Linked DNA regions of Homo sapiens: regions 1 and 3 are each linked to region 2. The links are contacts of gene promoters, found by promoter capture Hi-C in human tissues and cell types (Jung and others, 2019). All regions are on one chromosome and are shown on one strand. Each heading gives the region's core, a stretch centred on a gene start or on the middle of the fragment in contact. The rest is flanking DNA. Distances are from core to core; before and after follow the strand shown. Region 1 overlaps AMBRA1 (autophagy and beclin 1 regulator 1). Region 2 holds the start of F2 (coagulation factor II, thrombin). Region 3 overlaps AMBRA1 (autophagy and beclin 1 regulator 1).

Region 1 (4,097 bases), core at 1,556-4,055, 200 kb after region 2:
GCTAATTTTTTATTTTTAGTAGAGACGGGGTTTCTCCATGTTGGTCAGGCAGGTCTTGAACTCCCAACCTCAGGTGATCCGCCCACCTTGGCCTCCCAAAGTGCTGGGATTACAGGCGTGAGCCACCGGGATCCTCATAATTTTTAAGAGTGTTAAAGGAGTCCTGGGAGCAAAAAGTTTGTAAACCACTGGACTAGAGCATATAGTATATCCAAAAGGAATGAGAAATTTGGCTGCAAAGCTTGAATACCAAATGCCCTGCTGAGGAATCTGGATTTTATTTCCTAGGCAGAAGGAAGCTGTTAATTTGGGTTTGGTGCTCCCGGATGGAAATAGCGGTTGCCATCCAGACATCAAAGCTAGGCTGTAAAGTTATTCATTAGGCATGGGGCACCAGTGGCACCTTACCTTCTGGGAGCCAGCATTCCCTAACAGTAGAGGCCAGAGAGTTCTAGCAATTGATTGTTTCCAGTGGTTGGAGAAAGTCCAAACATGTTTGTTTGCTTTAGGATATTGATTTTTCTCTGTGATCTGACAACCAGTTAAAAGAGTATCTTCAGGTTATAATTTTTTAGTAAGGAGGAGTTGTCCACGGTTTGTTTATTCCATATGGACTAGTACCCAGACTTTCTGCACCTCAACTCTGATATCTATTGAATTTGAAGTGAAGGGGCCGGGCATGGTGGCGCATGCCTGTAATCCCAGCATGTTGGGAGGCCAAAGTGGGTGGATTATATGAGGCCAGGAGATCAAGACCAGCCTGGACAACATGGTGAAATCCCGTCTCTACTAAAAATACAAAAATTAGCCAGGCTTGGTGGTGCATGCCTGTAGCCCCAGCTACTCGGGAGGCTGAGGCAAGAGAATTGCTTAAGCACAGGAAGCAGAAGTTGCAGTTAGCCAAGATCGCGCCACTGTACTCCAGCCTGGGTGACAGAAACTCTGTCTCAAAAAATGAAATAAAATAAAATAATGAAGTGAAGGTTCTTTTCTTTCAGTTGATCTGCTCCGACCACTTTTTTTCTTTTCCAGAGCTTTCTTTGACTATTTTAAAAATTGTATTCCTAGTGATCAAGAATACAGCTGATACAGGGAACTTCTTTGCACATAACTCAGAATATTAATCAGGGAAAGAAAAAATAGTTGTATTCTTTTAAAAATGTTCAGGATTTCACAGTTTGAATTATATGCCTATTATGATTTTAGCAGAGCTTAATATTCATTTTTGATGTTTTTTTTCCAGTGCACAATACTTTAATTTCAAGTTCTTTTTTGTTCTGTCCCTTAGTAATTTAAAGAATTCTATGTAAGCAAATGTTTTAGAGCAGAAATGGGCGAACATCTTCTGTAAAGGGCTAGGCAGTAGGTATTTTAGGCTTTGTCTCTATCAGGATTCCTCAGTTCTGCCTTGCCAGCTCCAAAGTAGCCACTTATTTACAAAAGAAGACAGCTGACCTGGGGCCTGTAGTTTACCAAACCTGCTGTAGAGCATTAGGGCAAGTTGCTATTCTAAGAAATCTTTTTACAAAGTGAGTAATTCTTTTTTTTTTTTTTTTTTTTTTTTTGAGACGGAGTCTTGCTCTGTCACCTAGGCTGGAGTACAGCGGCGCTATCTTGGCTCACTGCAAGCTCCGCCTCCCAGGTTCATGCCATTCTCCTGCCTCAGCTTCCCAAGTAGCTGGGACTACGGGAGCCCACCACCACGCCCGGCTAATTTTTGCATTTTTAGTAGAGATGGAGTTTCACCATGTTAGCCAGGCTGGTCTCGAACTCCTGACCTCAGGTGATCTGCCCACCTCGGCCTCCCAAAGTGCTGGGATTACAGGCGTGAGCCACCGCGCCTGGCCGTGAGTAATTCTTCTGAAAACAAATGGCTATCTCTTTCTTTTCAGTATTTTACTTTAAGATTTTTGTGTGTTGTATGTTTTTGTTTTTCATTTTGAAATAATTTCAAACTTGCAGAAAACGTATAGAGGATTCCCATATACCCTTTACCCACATTCCCTAAATGTTAACATTTTGCCACATTGGCTTTATTATCTTCTTTTGTTCTCTCTCTCTCTATATATATACGAATATGGGTATACTTTTATATGCTTATAGTTTTTTATATTTAAGCTTATCCTATTCTTTAAGTATTTGGCATTTTTTTTTTTTTTTTTTTGAGACAGAGTCTGTCCCTGTTGCCCAGGCTGGAGTGCAGTGGCGCGATCTTGGCTCACTGCAACCTCTGCCTCCCGGGTTCAAGCGATTCTCCTGCCTCAGCCTCCCAAGTAGCTGGGACAGGCGTGTGCCACCAGGCCCGGCTAATTTTTTGTATTTTTAGTAGAGACATGGTTTCACCATGTTAGCCAGGATGGTCTCGATCTCCTGACCTCGTGATCCACCTGCCTCAGCCTCCCAAAGTGCTGGGATTACAGGCGTGAGCCACTGCACCCGGCCTGTTTAGTATTGTTAAAGTAATATATAGTTTGATAGAGCAGTGGCCTTCAGACTTAAAAAAAAAAAAAAAAAAAAAAAAAAACCTTATTAATAAAATGCTTTCTAGCCGGGCGCGGTGGCTTACGCCTGTAATCCTAGCACTTTGGGAGGCCGAGGCGGGTGGATCACCTGAGGTCAGAAGATTGAGACCAGCTCCAGCCAACATGGTGCAACCCTGTTTTTACTAAAAATACAAAAATCAGCTGGGTGTGGTGGTGGACGCCTGTAATCCCAGCTACTTGGGAGGCTGAGGCAAGAGAATCACTTGAACCCGGGAGGCGGAGGTTGCAGTGAGCCGAGATTGCACCATTGCACTCCAGCCTGGGCAAAAGAGGGAAACTCCATCTCAAAAAAAAAAAAAAAAAAAGCTTTTGAGTAATCCATGTGTGTTATGATTATATATTATATAGCAGAAGTTGTAATATTTCCCCCTTGCTGTCCAATGGATCAAATAGCACAACCCCTCGTATACCTCACTTGGACACCAGTGGTGTATAAAATGAACCAGGCAAGTAGAGAAAACAAGGAAGTATTTTGTTTGGTTGTATTGTGTTTTTGTATTTTTTTTTTCTTCAGCTTCAGTGATAGCAGCTTCGAACCTGAACAAGCTTGTCTGAGCCCTTCCTAGGCCCTCCCTGATTTCTTGTGATAGATTAAGTCAAGTCAAGTTTGTGGTGGTCACAGCAGAATGTGCAGAACTGCCATCGCATTCAATTTTCTCCTACCATTTCCCGTTGACAGCTGTCTGTAACAGGCTAACACTGGGAAAGAAAGATCTTTTGGCCGGGCGCAGTGGGTCACGCCTGTAATCCCAGCACTTTGGGAGGCCGAGGTGGGCGGATCATGAGGTCAGGAGATCAAGACCATCCTGGCTAACACGGTGAAACCCTGTCTCTACTAAAAATACAAAAAGAAATTAGCCAGGCATGGTGGCAGGTGCCTGTAGTCCCAGCTACTTGGGAGGCTGAGGCAGGAGAATGGCTCGAACCCAGGAGGCGGAGCTTGCAGTGAGCCGAGATCGTGCCACTGCACTCCAGCCTGGGCAACAGAGCGAGACACCGTCTCAAAAAAAAAAAAAAAAAAAAAAAAAGAAAGATCTTTCTTTGAGGTTCCTAGCAATGGTGGTAAACATTCCTAGGATGTTTACTCATCTAGTAACTCTAGTTCTTTATTCCACACCAATTGGAGAAGCCTATTTTTACTCCAGATAGTACTCGTATTGTAACTATGAAGAACTGATGTTTCATCAGTGTATATGTGTATTCATGGTGATTGGCTTTCCTGCTTTTGTGCATTAGCAGTAAAGTGACATATATATGTGGCTTGCCAGTTCCACTATATTGTCTGGGCAGCAAATGTTGCCAACACATTCCGTAGTAAGTAGGCACAGGGGATGCGTGTTCCAAAAGAACCTCATCAGAGACTCTCCAGCAACAAAGCTTCATATTTTGGGTCTATTCCAACTTAAAGAAGTCTTCCTAATTAAGGTAGGAAGTTAAGGTGGGAAATAGACTTTTAGGATTGTAAAATGGAGTCATTAAGGCCAGCACAGTGGCTCACACCTGTAATCCCAGCACTTTGGGAGGCCAAAGCGGGCGGATCAGAAGGTCAGGAGT
Region 2 (3,734 bases), core at 395-2,894:
CGTGTCAGTTGCTCACCTTCCAGACATGCAGCAAGCTTATCTCGAGGCGTCCTCGCTGTCTCACAAGCTGGAAAAGACCCAGGTGTTTACCTTTGGGATTGGGGTATGGCCAGGATGAGCTGGAGTCAGGGTGGATGGGATGTTGGTGAGAAACAGAAAGATGGATGAACAGATGGGAGGGACCAAGGAAGGAGTGGGGAAGGGGTGGATGGGTGGATGGCTAGGTGCAGCAGAAGATTCTCTGGGTAGAATTCTCTCACTGGGGTCCCCAGGCCTCCCTTCCTGGGGCAAATCCTTCCCGGTGCTCACCTGTGTACTTGGCCCAGAACACATCCTGAAAAACAAGGGCTGGGAGTGAGGCTACGGCAGCTCCTGTTTTGTGTTGTTTTAGTAAATGTTATGTCTCCTCCTCACACTTTCCTTTACCCTGGTCACGCAGGGGGCAGGCTCTGGGGAGGTTTGTGGCAGAGTTTCCTACTTTTGTTTCCAAAAGGAGAAGAATATTTGAGGATAGGGGAGTTCCTCCAACACACACACCGAGACTGAAAGAGGCTGGGGGAGATGGGAGGAGAGGGGGCAGTGGGACCCTGGCAGAGCCCTACAGACAGGAAAGGCGACACAGAGCTCCAGGAACACTGAGTCTTGAGCCCGGGGGCTTGTGGTGGCCTCCCCAGAGTCCCACCCCTCAAGGGTGGTGTGGGAGTCTGCCGCTGAGGAGGCCATGTGGACACAGAGCTCCAGGGCAGGTGGATGTCTGAAGACTGTGGAGGCCTCCCCATGTCATGGAGCTGCACAGGGACACAGTCCAGGCACAGAGACCCCCAGGAAAGGCTGAGGCCGCTCCTCTTGCCAGCCCTGTGAGGAGGGGCTCAGAGTTGAAATGAGGCTGTGAGCAGCGAAGGGGCTGTGGCGTTCCTCGCTTGCTTCTCTGTGGAAGTGTCTAGAGTTGGGCCCGGTCTGAGGCCCCGGCACCGTCCGAGCAGCCCAGGCTCACCGTAGCCGTGGAGGACTCCAGAGCCTCGAAGGCCTCCTCGTAGCTGCACGTCTCCTCCACGCACTCTCGCTCCAGGTTGCCCTTGCGCACCTCCTCCAAGAAGGTGTTGGCTCGCCGGACCCGCTGGAGCAGCGACCGTGCTTGCTGAGGAGCCAGGAACACTGTAAGGCGGTGGGGGGGTCATGGGACAGCGGCCTCAGGAACAGGCAGTCTTGGCCATTCTGGGGGCATGAAGCAAGCCCACCCTCCCCTGCTGGCTTCTGAGAGAGGCTGTCTGGGCTGGTGGAAGTGCCTGGAAGGCTGCTAAATGTGGCCCCCTGTGCCCCTCCTACACTGCCCCTTGCCCCCAGCCTGCTCCCTATATTGGAAGAGAGAAGCAGCCATTCTCTTTCCAGCCCTGAGCTCCTGACTTCTTCCCTAAGCTGGCCGCCTGGGGCTGAGACCTACTTAGGGGCCAGCTCTGTGTGCTCTGTCCAGCCAGGAGACCCCAGCCCATGGGCCCACACCCCAGTCCTCCAGCCTGTTCCAGCCTGCAAGCACTCCCTTACCATGCTGGCTGTGCACAAGGCTACACAGGGCAGCCAGGGCCAGGCAGCCAGGCAGCTGCAAGCCTCGGACGTGCGCCATAGTGTGTCAGCTCCTGGGTCACTGAGGAATTGTCTGTCCTGACCCCTCTGGGTTAATGTTGAACTAACATGAAGAAATCAGCGGAGAGGGTGAGGTCAGAGGGTCAGGGCCGTGGGGACGGGTGGGTAGATAGTCCTCCTGTCCATCTCCACCATCTGGGAGGACAGGTCCTCCTGGGAGCAGGGATGGATGGTCTAGGAGGAGTCACAAAAAAGGTCACTGTCACCCCCATCTCCCACCCTCCCCCTCTGAGATTTAGCCCATTCTGGCCAGTGGGGCTATGAGACTTTCCTGGAGCTCCTTCGAATCCTAACATATAGCGGTGGTTGCTTGTCATCTCTGTGTGCCTCAGTTTCCTCATCTATACAATGGGAATAATACTTTGTTGTGAGGACTAAAGGAGATTAGGAATGGAATGTCCATGGAATATCGTAAGTTCTTAATCAGATCTGCACATATAGGCCAATGTGGGGGTTTGTATAATCATAATACACAGATATCAAAAATAGAGACAAAGATAAAAGGTGTGGCCTGATGGAAGTTGCCCCTCGCCATGGGATGCACCAGGGATAGGAACAGCCAACATTTGCCCCAGCTTCTCAGCCACTGGAGGAGGGGCCCATTTCTCCTCCTTCCTGTCCAGGGTGCCTGGAGGTGTGTTTGTGTGTGGCAGCTGCCTGGGAGGAGTCAGGTCCAGGGACTCTTGGGCCTTTAGTCTATCTTCTGTCACCTCCCAGGACCTGCGCCTGTCCCGGAACAGGGGCTACTGAAATCCCTGGGTCTCCACTGAGGGGCCCTCCTTCTCCCTGGCTGCCTGCCCCATGGCAGGCCTAGAGAGGCTTCTGGTCCTACCCTACCCTCCGCCCTACTCCTGTCCCTCCCCCATTTCCTGTTTGCAGTACCCAAGGCAAATATTAGTCTAAGTAGGACAGAGGGACAAAGAGCAGGAACACGGGGAGGCACAAGTTCTCGCCTCGCCTCACCTGTCCTTTGGGCCTGGCTGTTTGGGGTCTGGACCAGGTCATGTGTGGGAACAGGGAGTGTTGGCAGAAAAACTGGGGACCAGGACTCCCGCAAACACCTTAATTCCTGGGAGGCCCATTTCTTATATATTTTCATATATATATTTTTAGGCCAGGCATAGTGGCTCACACTTGTAATCCCAACACTTTGGGAGGCCGACATGGCAGGATCGCTTGAGGCCAGGAGTTTGAGACCAGCCTGGGCAACATAGCAAGACCCTCATCTCTACCAAAAAAAAATTAAAAATTAGCTGGGAATGGTGGTGCATGCCTGCAGTCTGAGCTACTGAGGAGGCTGAGGCAGGAGGATCACTTGAGCCCAGGAGTTCCAGGCTGCAGTGAGCTATGATTGCACCACTGTACTCCAGCCTGGGTAACAGAGTAAGATCCTGTTTCTTTCTTTCTTTCTTTCTTTCTTTTTTTTTTTTTTTTTTGAGACGGAGTCTCGCCCTGTCACCCAGGCTGGAGTGCAGTGGAACAATCTCGGCTCACTGCAATTTCCATCTCCCTGTTCAAGTGATTCTCCTGACTCAGTATCCCAAGTAGCTGGAATTACAGGCGTGTGCCACCACACCTGGCTAATTTTTGTATTTTTAGTAGAGATGGGGTTTCGCCACATTGACCAGGATGGTCTCGAACTCCTGACCTCAGGTGATCCGCCCACCTCCACCTCGGCCTCCCAAGTGCTGGGATTACAGGCGTGAGCCACCATGCCTGGCCTGAATGAGACCTGTTCCTAGAAAAATAAAATAAAATAAAATAAAATTGAATAAATAAAATAAAATTATAATATATATTTTGGGTTTTTGTTGTTTTGTTTTTGAGATGGAGGCTGGAGTGCAATAGCGTGAACTCGGCTCACTGCAACCTCTACCTCCTAGGTTCAAGCGATTCTCCTGCCTCAGCCTCCCGAATAGCTGGAACTACAGGCACCCGCCATCATGCCTGGCTAATTTTTGTATTTTTGTAGAGACAGAGTTTCACCATGTTGCCCAGGCTGGACGTGAACTCCTGACCTCAGGTGATCTGCCCACTTTAGCCTCCCAAAGTGGGGATTACAGGCGTGAACCACTGCTACCTACCTGTTGGGT
Region 3 (4,181 bases), core at 1,556-4,055, 250 kb after region 2:
TAAGTAAACTGAAGATTCCAGGATCTCTTCTCACTATTCTAGCCCTGATTGAGGCCATTATGCTTTCGTAGCAGTTTCCTGCCTGGTTGTTCCCTGCTTATAATCTTCCCATGCCAGAAATACTTGCCAGTATGTGGCCCTAGACTTCTGGTAAACATGAAAGAATGAACATGTGTGTTTATCTCCACTCTCTCCCAGATCTCTTCTAAATTAACAGTAAAAGGGCCAGGTGCAGTGGCTCACACCTATAATCCCAGCACTTTGGGAGGATCACGTGAGGTCAGGAGTTTGAGACCAGCCTAGCTGACATGGTGAAATCCCATCTCTACTAAAACTACAAAAATTAGCCGGGTATGGTGGTGTGCTACTCGGGATGCTGAGGCAGGAGAATCGCTTGAACCCAGGAGGCAGAGGTTGCAGTGAGCTGAGATCGTGCCAGTGCACTCTAGCCTGGGCAACAGAGTGAGACTCCATCCCAAAAAAAAAAAAAAAAAGAGTAACATAGAGTAACAGTAAAGGAATTAGACAAAAGTATATATTCATTGTAAAAAGAGAATGGGAAAAAGCGAGTGATGATTAGTAAGTGATGACAAGAACATTTCTCTTCTAGAAGAAACAAAATTGCATGTGAAAGGAAATACGAATTTATTATACTATTCCTGTATTTGTGAATATTTATATAGTTATAATACTGTAAATAATTTACATTAACCCAAACATGGGATGTAACTATTTTGGAAGGATGGGGGAGAAAAGAAGGTAGGAACAAATCATCTCCCATCATAGGAAATCAGTAGATAATAGCGGAAATTGAAAAATCAGTTATAGGCCTAGTGCAGTGGCTCACACCTGTAATCCCAGTACTTTGGGAGGCTGAGGTGGGCAGATCCCTTGAGATCAGGAGTTTGAGACCAGCCTTGCCAACACGGTGAAACCCCTTCTCTACTAAAAATACAAAAATTAGCCAGGTGTGGTGGCGTGCACCTTAGTCCCAGCTATTCAGGAGGCTGAGACAGGAGAATCGCCTGGATCCGGGAGGTGAAGGTTTCAGTGAGCCAAGATCGTGCCACTGCACTCCAGCCTGGCAACAGAGCGAGACTCCATCTCAAAAAAAAAAAAAAGAAAAAAGAAAAGAAAAAAAGAAACATTAGTAATTTTAGAAATATGATGGTTAATTATCAGAAGAAAAAAAAGGTTTGAAAAGTGATTGCCTCTGGAGAACAGAAATCAAGGAGGGTGGGTCATGGGGCTGGAGGCTGCCATTTAACTTTATTAGCCTTGAATACTTTCTAACTTTAAAAATTATGGGTAGGTAGTACTTTGATAAAAATAAAAATTTGAAAGCTATCCACTGTGTAATTTACTTACTCAAAAATGTCAAAAGATTTCTCTTTCCTGCCACACAGATGACAAGTTCCTTATCTTTTTTCAACCTGATCTCTATTATTATTTATATAAGCCTTTGCTTCCCACTGAACTGGTATTAGCTCTTGACCCCTGAATCCACTTTGAGCAGTAACCTCTTTCTATCCTGAACCATTCTCCTTTCCACATGCTTCAAGCCCTAGTTCCTCTGTACTCTGTAAATTTCCTGCTCCTTCTCAGGTAGCCATTGGTGCCCAGTGGCCCCTTCCTAAATGGCTGTGGCTGTGGTTGGTCTCCTCGTTAGATACTCACATTGCCCTTTTTTTTTTTTTTAGACAGAGTCTTGCTCTGTTGCCCAGGCTAGAGTGCAGTGGCACGATCTCGGCTCACTGCAACCTCCGCCTCCTGGGTTCAAGTGATTCTCCTGCCTTAGCCTCCCAAGTAGCTGGGACTACAGGCGTGTGCCAGCACGCCTGGCCTCATTTATAATGCTTTTGATGGAAGTCCTATCTTCCCAACTGGATTGTAGGCTCCAAACAAGCAAGAAGTACATCTTACTACCATTTTATGTACATCTTCCACAGTGCTATTTGATAAATACCTGTTTAATATTCAGTTCTCACTCAGCCATCAAAAAGCTTTCTGTTTTGAGATCACTATTCTTTATTCTAGGCATGTCTCAAGACTCTGTACTTTAGTCTAGATCCCAAATCTGTGTATCTTTGTCAGCCTTAGTGAGGTTGAAGGCCAAGGCTTTATCTGTTTGCTGCTGATACTGTCGCTGGTTGGCACAGCATGCTAGTTGTTTTTTATAGAATATAGCATGGACAGTTGCACAATTTCTGTGAATGTTTAAGCAAGATTGTATGTATACATTTCAGAAGTTCTGTGTTACTTATGAGAAGTGCTAATTTATCATGAGCATCACTATTTTGGGGATGGATGAACCTTTTTCCTTTCTACCTCCTTACACTGATGATCCCTTACACTGCAAAGAGCCAGGAAAAACCAAAAGTAAATAAAGCCCTATGCAGTCTCCACTTTTTCTCTTTGCACTCTCTAACCACCTGGCTTTGCATGTTCCCTAGAGAGGCTTCCTCTGTGATATATCTTAGCCTGTTGAGCCCCAAAGTTACCTGAAATATTTAGGTCACTAGTTTTTAATCTTTAGAGAACAGTGAACTCTCTGAGAAAATATGGTAAAAACTTAGACCCTACACTAAGAAAAAAACACCTACACATAACTGTAGTAACGTGTGCCCAGGATTTTGTTTTTATTCCAATATGGTAAGGACAAAAGATGAAGAGATGATTGCCGTTGAAAGGATAGTTTGTTCCTTACAGTTCCCAAGAGATGAGCGTGTGCCATGCCACACAACACAAGGCCACATGGGGAAGTACCAGGGAGTCAGGAGGCAGAAGGAGGGCAGGGAGGAGCATGAGCCTTTATTGGGGTTTCTAGGGGAAGGGATGGGTGAGGCTAAGTAAGTTTAGGATTGGATCGGTTTGAATAATTTTGGCAGGGTCTGGGCTGTAGGTGTGGGCACTAGTTGTCCATACTTGGCCCTGGGGTGATTTAGGGCTGGGGAATATTGTCTTGGTGTTTATTTTTTTTTATTTTTTATTTTTATTTTTTGAGAGGGAATCTCACTGTGTCGCCAGGCTGGAGTGCGGTGGCGCGATCGCAGCTCACTGCAACCTCCACCTCCCGGTTCAAGTGATTCTCCTGCCTCAGACTCCTGAGTAGCTGGGATTACAGGCACCCACCACCATGCCTGGCTAATTTTTGTATTTTTAGTAGAGACGGGGTTTCACCCTGTTGGCCAGGATGGTCTCAAACTCTTGACCTCGTGATCCGACTGCCTTGGCCTCGCAAAGTGCTTGGATTACAGGTGTGAGCCACTGCGCCCGGCCTTGTCTCGGTGTTTAATAAAGGAGGTAGTTAGGGTATGGACTCTGGATTGGTTGGTTTGCATATCAAAGGCAAGTTGTTTGCAATCTCCAGGAAGTAACTAACCCTGGGAGGTACAGTTGCTTATCTGCAAAGCCCCTAAGATGTCAAAGCATCATAAAATATAGAAAATTAAAAATATTAATGTAATAACACACTCATGAACACATGCACAATTTTATTTGCTATTTCAGGGGTTTCTTGAACCACCTGAAGCCTATCTGTAGACCCAAGGTACAAAACCCAAATTGGGTCCTGGGAGCTCTGTGCCTTTGAATACAGTATTTGAGTTTAGTTTAGACCATCTCAGGAAGGTGCATAGTGAATTATTAAATCCAGGGAAATGCAGCAACTGCTCAACTTTTTTGGTAAAGCTTTTCTTTCTACTTTGTTTTGACTTTTATACTAGGAGCTTATTTGTGGGTATTTTGTGCCAAGAGGGATAAGCCTGCATTCTCTAATTGCTGCATCAAGTCTGCTCACAGGGCGTCCTGATGACATTTTAAATACATGGAAATTTTTGAATGCATGAAAACATCTAGTGCTGATTCTCTGGCACCTGCTCTTCTCTTCTTGGAGTTTATCCCATTGCCTAATTCTGTATATTGTTTCCAAACCTTTCATTAACCATTGTTGGAATTTTTGCTTTTTAACCTCAGCATCCCCACTTATCTTTTGAACAGAAACAAAAACTGTCTCTGACTACTAGGCATTTCCTAGAGTGAAAAGCTCCCTATCTCTCCTTTTCTGACTTTTCAGAGCATGAAATGGCTGTGCTAATCCTGTTGGCCCCAAGGCAAGAGCCTTGCAGAGGCTAACAAAGGAGAAGGCCTGCACCCACTTGGATCTTCCACAGGCCAGAGCA

What was found. The method cuts DNA at HindIII sites, captures the fragments that hold promoters and counts their contacts. A contact is called where the count stands out against the background at its distance.
Region 1: a contact is called between a fragment that was not itself captured here and the fragment with the promoter of F2 in region 2, in 4 of the 25 tissues and cell types used here (dorsolateral prefrontal cortex, mesenchymal stem cells, mesendoderm cells and 1 more).
Region 3: a contact is called between a fragment that was not itself captured here and the fragment with the promoter of F2 in region 2, in 2 of the 25 tissues and cell types used here (bladder and dorsolateral prefrontal cortex).

Annotation. Positions count from the first base shown.
Region 1 is chr11:46,515,898-46,519,994 of GRCh38, reverse strand. The region is part of intron 7 of AMBRA1 (autophagy and beclin 1 regulator 1); the gene reads left to right. Among named protein-coding and RNA genes, the nearest start is that of MIR3160-1, 66 kb to the right of the region's middle. The HindIII fragment of the contact is 3,250 bases long and covers 1,181-4,097 here.
Region 2 is chr11:46,717,123-46,720,856 of GRCh38, reverse strand. It overlaps F2 (coagulation factor II, thrombin), which reads right to left and starts at 1,644. Exons shown (of 14, transcript NM_000506.5): 1 at 1,543-1,644; 2 at 995-1,155; 3 at 310-334; 4 at 17-67. The coding sequence starts at 1,621. The HindIII fragment of the contact is 9,646 bases long and covers 1-3,734 here.
Region 3 is chr11:46,463,863-46,468,043 of GRCh38, reverse strand. The region is part of intron 11 of AMBRA1 (autophagy and beclin 1 regulator 1); the gene reads left to right. Among named protein-coding and RNA genes, the nearest start is that of MIR3160-1, 14 kb to the right of the region's middle. The HindIII fragment of the contact is 5,711 bases long and covers 1-4,181 here.